Linked DNA regions of Homo sapiens: region 2 is linked to region 1. The links are contacts of gene promoters, found by promoter capture Hi-C in human tissues and cell types (Jung and others, 2019). All regions are on one chromosome and are shown on one strand. Each heading gives the region's core, a stretch centred on a gene start or on the middle of the fragment in contact. The rest is flanking DNA. Distances are from core to core; before and after follow the strand shown.

Evidence for each region. The method cuts DNA at HindIII sites, captures the fragments that hold promoters and counts their contacts. A contact is called where the count stands out against the background at its distance.
Region 2: a contact is called between the fragment with the promoter of ADAM8 here and the fragment with the promoter of PWWP2B in region 1, in 1 of the 25 tissues and cell types used here (spleen).

Annotation. Positions count from the first base shown.
Region 1 is chr10:132,394,816-132,398,449 of GRCh38, forward strand. It overlaps PWWP2B (PWWP domain containing 2B), which reads left to right and starts at 2,385. Exons shown (of 3, transcript NM_138499.4): 1 at 2,385-2,536. The coding sequence starts at 2,412. LOC124902526 (a long non-coding RNA gene) reads right to left here and starts at 1,741. Exons shown (of 2, transcript XR_007062342.1): 1 at 1-1,741. RefSeq lists enhancers at 303-826, 827-1,349, 2,920-3,442, 3,443-3,634 and silencers at 1,158-1,537, 1,558-1,987, 2,398-2,507, 2,518-2,657. The HindIII fragment of the contact is 21,746 bases long and covers 1-3,634 here.
Region 2 is chr10:133,275,111-133,278,744 of GRCh38, forward strand. ADAM8 (ADAM metallopeptidase domain 8) reads right to left here and starts at 1,758. Exons shown (of 23, transcript NM_001109.5): 1 at 1,662-1,758; 2 at 374-477. The coding sequence starts at 1,707. It overlaps TUBGCP2 (tubulin gamma complex component 2), which reads right to left. Exons shown (of 18, transcript NM_006659.4): 18 at 3,525-3,634. RefSeq lists enhancers at 1-197, 1,201-1,848, 3,163-3,212 and a silencer at 1,448-2,007. The HindIII fragment of the contact is 31,119 bases long and covers 1-3,634 here.

The DNA of each region.
Region 1 (3,634 bases), core at 1,135-3,634:
CGTTTAAGTTGCAAAAATGGTCTCCCTGTCTGCAGATGGTCTTTTTTATACCTTACCTAGTGGAGAGCAGGTTTTAAAAACGGCTTCCAAGTTCACTTAACAATACACAGTAAATAGCACGGGCCAGAGGGGAAGAGGCAGAGGGAAGGCGGGCAGGGCAGAGGGAAGGTGGGCAGGGCAGAGGGAAGGCGGGCAGGGCAGAGGGGCAGGAGGTACCATGGGCCAGCCGTGCTTCTCACTGCCCTCTTCCCCTCTCCAGCCAGAGCTGCCAGCTGCTGGGTGCATCTGTCTGGCCCTCTGTGCCCCGGAACCCTCTTCCCCTGTCCTGCCCGCCGCCACCCAGCCTTGGTTCCTCTCAAAGCCCAGCAAGTCCACAGGTGGGTCCCTCAGCACACCCCAAACTGTTCCTCCTGCTGGCGTGGGAAGTCACCAGGAGCCCCAGGCGCACGCAGACACCTTGCAGAGGATCCTGCCCACCCCCACCCCCACCTCGGAAGCCCTTGCTTTTGCCCACCTGGTGGGGCCCTGGTGAATGCTGGTGCTCCCCTGGACACTCTTTCTGGATCCCTCCACCCACATACAGCCCCCTGTGCATTAGCCCCACCCCATGCTGGCCCCACCAGCCTGAATGCTGATTCACCCTGGCAGTCCCCAATGCTCAGAAAGGGCAGTGCCCAGCAGGCCTCTCCAGCAGGCAGGAAGAAGAGCCAAGCAAGTGGGCAGCCTCAGGATGGCCGCTCAGCCCAACCTGGAGCAGGGTGGCGAGGGGGTCCCTGCTGCCTGGCATTTTTCCTCCAAAGTCAGCCCCACCCCTGGAGGGGGCAGCTGCAGAGGCCTGTGGGCAGGACAGCAGGCAGGCTCCACTGCAAGCCTGGCAACCAGTGGGCAGGGGCTGGCTGACCCTGGAGAACGGGGCGCCTTGAGGTGCCTGAGGCCCCAGGAAGGGCTTAGTGTTGGCGGGAGCCCCAGGCCACACAGAGGAGGACAGACACTCACTGGGCTTCCAGGCCTCCTCTGGGACTGTCCCCGGCCAGAACTCTGGCTCATTCGGCCTCGGTCCCTACCCCTGTTCTAGCCGGACGGTCAGGTGTCCCAGGCCCCGCGGGCTCCCTCACTCCGCCCTGGCTCCTCTCTGAGGCTCCCACTGCCGCGCGGCCGCCGGAGGGCGAGGTCGACAGGCGCCAGCGACCCGACGGTCCCCAGTGGCACCAGGGGCGGTGGTCCTCAATTCCCAGGCTGGGAGGAGCCCTGCCCGGCGGCGCTGGGTCGCCAGGACAACTACGCGGTCCCCCGCCCCGCCTCCAGGCCTCGTCAGGCGCTGCAAGTCCGGCTCAGAAGCCCGGCCCGGGGCCAAGGTCACCGCAGCAGGCCGGGCCCCTGCGTTCTGAGCCGGGTGCGGACGTGCTGGTGCTCGGGGAAGTCGGGGGCTTTGACGCCTGAAGGCGCGGGAGCCGGGCGCCTGGGGGAAGGGGGTCCGGCGCCGTCACCTCCCACTCCTCGCCCGCGGGTCGGGGAGCCCCTGCCGCGGGGGAAGGAGGCTGTTTCCTTTGTAAACTGGCGGAGGCGCGCCTGGCCCCTGGGCCCGGCAACCCGAAGAGACACGCCCGAGACCTCCGGAGGGAGTTAACCCCCCGGGCCCCGGTGCCGGCCACCCCCAGGCGCGCAGGGTGGCCCTGAGCCGGGCGCGCGCCCGCTTGTCGCCCCGAGAGGCGCCGAGCCCAGTGGGGCGACCCAGTGTCCCGCCCCCCACGCGGCGAGGGCGACACTAGGCCGCTGCCCCCGGGCGCCCCGCGTCCCCTCCGCCTGCCCCGGCTTCCTGCGCGCGCCGCCCGGGACTTCCTCGCCGCAGTGCCCGGGGCCACCAGAGCCCAGCGCGGGGCGCTGCCGGGACACGCGGGCGGCCGACCCCAGGCGGGAGGATCCGGGCCACCGGGGAGGGAGGGAGGGCGCAGGGCTGGGCCCGGAGGGGGAGGGGGGCCCGGGACCGGCCCCAGGCAGGGGAGCGGGGGGATGGGGTCCCGGGGCTCCGGCCGCGGCGGGTGTCCCCCCCGCCGCCCCCGGGCTCGTGGCTCTCGGGTCCTCCCGAGCCAGGGGACACTCCCGGCCAGCGTGGGCCGCGAGCCCGGGCGCAGCCCCCTCTCCAGCCCGGGGGTCCGCACCGCGCGTCCGGCCGACCTCTGCGGGCGGGCGCGGCTTCTCCCGGGACGCGGCGGCGGCGGGCGGGGTCCCCGGGAGCGGAGCCCGCGGCCGCGCGCCCCCGGCCCGGCTCGGCTCGGCTGTGGCGGCCGCCCCAGCGGAGCTTTGTGACGTCAGGCGGCCGCGGGGCGGCGTCACGCGCGGGGCTGACCCGGCGGCGGCGGCGGCGGCGGCGGCGGCGGCGGGGCGGGGGCGGCCTGGGACGCGGCGGGAGCATGGAGCCGCGCGCCGGCTGCCGGCTGCCGGTGCGGGTGGAGCAGGTCGTCAACGGCGCGCTGGTGGTCACGGTGAGCTGCGGCGAGCGGAGCTTCGCGGGGATCCTGCTGGACTGCACGAAAAAGTGAGCGGGGGCGCGGGCCGGGACACCCCCGGGGTCCCCACGCGACACCCGCCTCCGCCGCCCGGAGACCCGGGACCCGCCTCCGGGTTGGGGGTGGCGTGGCCCCGGCGCCCGCTTTCGGTTTCTGCCGAGCCTGAGTTTCGGGGCGCGCGAGCGCGGCCGCCACTCGGGGGGGCAAAAGTGGTTCTCAAAGTCGTCGCGACTTTTCGGGGCGGGCGCCGGGCCGGGGCGGGCCGGGGCGGGGGGCGCGGGGCCGGGGTCCCGGAACTCCACACATCTGCCATAATTAATGCACTTTTCTTTGTTCAGAGCCACTGTTGAATTCGACTGTTGGCAGAATTGTCGTTAAAGCAGGGGAGGGTCAGATGCGCCGTGGCCTTGCCCTGGCAGTTCCTCACAGGTGGGGGTGCCCTGTCGAAGGCCACGGGCCCCTGGCTGCTGGGAGTGACTCCGCGGCTGAGGTTTGGATTCGGGGAGAGCAGTTGCGCCCAGCTGTGCGATTTAAGAACAGTTTCAGGCCAGGGAGCCCTGAGTCATGGGGGCGTGAAGAGGTACAAGCTGTGGGAGCCGTGGGCACATCCCCCGGGAGCCCTGGCTTCCTGGGTGGGGGGCGCAGGGCAGGGCGGGGCGGTTCCTCCTGAGAGGCACCTGTGCACGGGCTGCAGGGACCCATGCGGTGCAGATGAGCCTCCTGGACACCGCGTCACATGGCAGGGAGCTGTCGCTGCCAGATCAATGATTAGGCATGAATCAGGCTGTGGCCTCGCTGCGCTCCTGCAGGGCTTTCTTTTGAAACTGGGAGCAGGGAAAGGCTCCTCTTGTAAAGGCCCAACTTTTTCCATCCGTGGAGCCCAGATTTTTGCCTGGTGACATGAATTAGCAGAGAGGACCGTGTTCCTTCCACAATTATTTCGCAGACGTTATCTCTTCATTAGATGTGCCAGAAGCCATTTATCCACAAGTCACGTGATTTAACATATGGCTCCCGTGTGGTTCCTGCCCGCTCCGTGTGGGCTACCGCTGGGAGTGCACGGGCAGGATGGAGGGACACTCGGGGGGTGAGAATCGCCACCTGGGAGCTGCCATCCCCTCCACCAT
Region 2 (3,634 bases), core at 508-3,007, 880 kb after region 1:
CTGGGAAACCCCCGCCAGGCCCCCCCCCCAACACAGGAAGGTGTGTCAACTCTGCGGTGAGCCAGCGTCACTTCTCAAAGAGGAATTTGGCTTATCAGCCTCGCCAAGTGAAACTGGGGAGGGGCCCGGGGCCAGCACAACCTGCCCCTGCTCCCTTCCAGGGGTCCATAGAGCTCCTGAAGGAACGAGGAGGCTGGGAGCCCTCAGGCAGTGCTGGAGGGAGGAACGGAGATGGGCCCCAGGGGGCTAGAGCTGTACAGGGCAGCCCCAGACACCCACTGGCCTCTCACCACTTTCTGTAAGCTAAAGCTCCTTTCACAAAAATAGGCTCAGGGGCCAGCCAGGGACCCTCCCCAGGCCAGCTTAGACTCACCAAGTGGGAGGGCAGAGCTCGGCGGACTCGGGGGCCTGGCAGACGCCACGGCAACACGACCTCATACTGCTCCATGAGGGCCCAGGGCCGGCTGGGGGCAATCGCTGCAGGAGGGAGGGTCAGCAGGCATGAGGGGCCGGGGGGCAGGTTTCCTTCCCAGAGGCCTCCTGGGCCCTCAGATTCTGTCTCTTGCTGGGCTTGACCCTCCCCTGGGGAACTCACCAGATAGCTCTGGGACAAAGACTCAAGTGAGGGTTCTGTGCCTAAAAGACCCCAGGAGCGCCCCCAGGCATGGCCGGTGGGCCTGTGTCCTGCAGCACCCACACACAGTGCTCAGAGACGCTGTGGGTGCCAGCGGGTGCCAGTGACTCCACAGGTCTCCAGGCTGTCTCAGATCTCTGGAGGGGCCCGAGGGCAAGGATGAACCTTCCCCCCAGGGAGGAGGACTCGGGCCGCCGACCTGCCCGTTTCCATTCTCCTCCTCCATTCTTCTGATCATCTGATCGCATCTAACTGGGGAGCAGGAAGTGCCTCCCGGAGGCTGTTCACCTCCCAAGAACTGGAAACTCCCTGGTATCCGAGAGCAGAGGGCAGGGTCCCAGCATGCAATGGGCAGGGTTTCGGAGACCACCAACCCCAGGACCCTTTGCTCCCATTAAAACACAATAGTGGACGTGTCTCCATGACCACATCTCCAACCTGGAGAGGCAGCAGGGGAGCAGCCAGCCCCTATCTGCCCAGGAAACTGGCGGGAAGCAACCCGGCCTCCAGCCTGAAGCTCCTCAGCACACCCCAGCCCAAGTCACTCCAGGAGCAGGGGTGGGATCCAGGGTCAGCAGCCCCATGTCCTCCCCCAGGCAGGAGACGGGTCCCCTCAGCCCACACCCCTGCACTCCAGGCCTCAGCTTGTCTGCCCTCCCTTCCCTCCTCGGCTAAATAGTGGGGGTGGGTAGCCCCACAGGTGAATCCCAGGAACCCAGGGCGCCTCGCGCAGCAGGTGAAGCGTCCTGCTTGGCCCGGCCCCGACCCCACTAACAAGCTCAGAGGCGGGACTTCCCTCTCACAGTTCACCTTTGAAGGTTCCCTCCGACCTCCCCGGCCTCCCCGGCCCGGGGCTCTCCACCCAGAGACCACTGTGCACCTGATGGCCCGCTCCCAGGGACCAGCCCGAAGCCGGGCCAGGGTGCGGGGTGCGAGCAGGCCAGGGGCTCGGGGTCCGCGTCGCGTCCTGCGGGGAGAGCCACCCTGCCCCGCGCTGCGCCCGGGACGGTTCCCTGGAACCACTCACCAGGCAGCATCATCGCGCCCAGCAGCCAGAGCCCGAGGCCGCGCATGGCCGGGTCGGGGAGCAGAGGCGGAGGTGACAGCCCCGCGGGACACGGTCTGGTTCCTGCGCTCCTGGCCCGAGGCTCTTTTCCGCGCGCCCCGCCCCGGCGCCCCGCAGCCAATGGGCCCCTCGGCCGGTGGGAGGGGCGGGGCGCGCGGCACCTGGGGGCGGGGTCCGTTTCCCCTCTCCCCACAATCCAGCATCCTCCCTTGCACAGGTGAGGAAACTCAGGCACAGCCTGTCCCAAGTCCGGCCAGAGCCCCGAGAGGGGGCCTCTCGAAGGACCCGGCGGCTGGAAGGAGGTGGCGCCAGGCAGGTCCTGGAGGGGAAGGGACTTGTGAGGGCCGCCTGGCGGTTTCAGGAGAGGGGGTCTCTGATTTCCTGGGGAACAGAAAGCCTCAGGCAGGGGCAAGTCATGGCTTTGTGGGCATAGGTTCAGCCCTGTGGGAAGCTCTGCCACCCTCCCCCCCAAGCCTGCGCCCCCTCCACCAGGCTGAGGCCTCACCGGAGTGGGATAGGCATGGGCCCGCAGGCGTCCAAGTGGGGAGGGGGAGCCCTAGGTGGGGGTCCCAGCCCAGGTGATGGCAGGTGCAGGGGCCGTCCCTAGCCTAAGATCCCCAGACAGCAGCTGACGCTGGCCGACGTGGACCAAAGCCTGCAGCAGCCCACCGTGGCCTGGCTCCGGCGTCTCCAGGCCTGCGGCCAAGCGTGCTTGCCCTTGGTGACCACATTCCCCGTGGTGGGCTCAGCCTCGAGGGTGCAGGTTTGGGCTGACACCACAGCTCCCCAGACGGTCCACCCAGGACCCCTCCCTGGGGCTTTCACAGCCAGGCCGCCCTCCTGGAGTGGGAACAGTGGTGGTGGCAGGAAAGGCAGCTCAGATGACCACACAGGGCGCTGCTGACAGATCACATGGGGGGGGGGGGCCTCAGGGCCTCCCTGGGGAGAGGCAGGGCAGGGCCAGCAAGGGGCTGGAGGGAGTCCTGCCTGGAGAGAGGGCACCAGGGCAGGGCGAGTCAGGGAACTGCACGGGCCTAGGGGCAGAGGACAGAGGTCAAGGGGCAGTGGCAAGAAGAGGCCGGGGCCTCGGACGTTATCCTGGGAGGACAGGGAACCCGGAGGATCTAAGCTGGCGTGAGTGATGCTGTCACATTTTGTCTCAAAGCCATTCTTACCCTAATGTGAATGGCATGAAAAGCAAGAAAGCAAGGGCTGGCACTGGGCCGCAGGTGACTTCTGCTGCCTGGGGGTGTGTCCGCTTGCCTGTGTGGCACAGGACGAGGTCCCCCAGGCTGCCGAGAGGCTCCCAGGTAGGGCTGGGGATACTGGCCTGTGCCTGAGCTCATGCAGGTGACCCTGTTATTATAGAACAATGGCCAGCTGGCAATCACACTTCCCTTCCTTGACCTCATGGTGCAAGTTACTCAACAGCAAAGTGCAAAGGCGGCACGCTGGCCACATCAGAGGCACAGCAAGGCCCCTGCCGACGCTGAGCTACCAGGGATTTATTCCTAAAAAGACAGGACCAGCTTGGGCCAGAACAGGCTCCTCCCGCGCTGAGGAAGTTCCACCCAATCCCACAGAACACAGCTCTCCTCTTCAGCAGGTGCCGGGGGGTCTGGGAGCCTGAACCCCACAGCCCTGGAGGCTTCCCTCCCCTCCTCCTATCACCACCTGCAAACCCCACTTCTCAAGGCCCAGGGCTTCCCAGACCCCAGGACACAAGATCAGGGGTTTCTGGGCCTCGGGGCCAGGCAGGAAAGCTAGCAGGCTCCTCTGCTCACCAGTCCGGCATTTGCACAACACTGAGACTGACAGCTTGGGTTGCTGATAAATGTGTTTACTCACAGGCCAGACCTGCACAGCCTGCAGACAAGGAGGAAGCGGTTTGTGGCTGGAGAGTTGGACACCCCCACCCCCACTCGGCGGTGCTC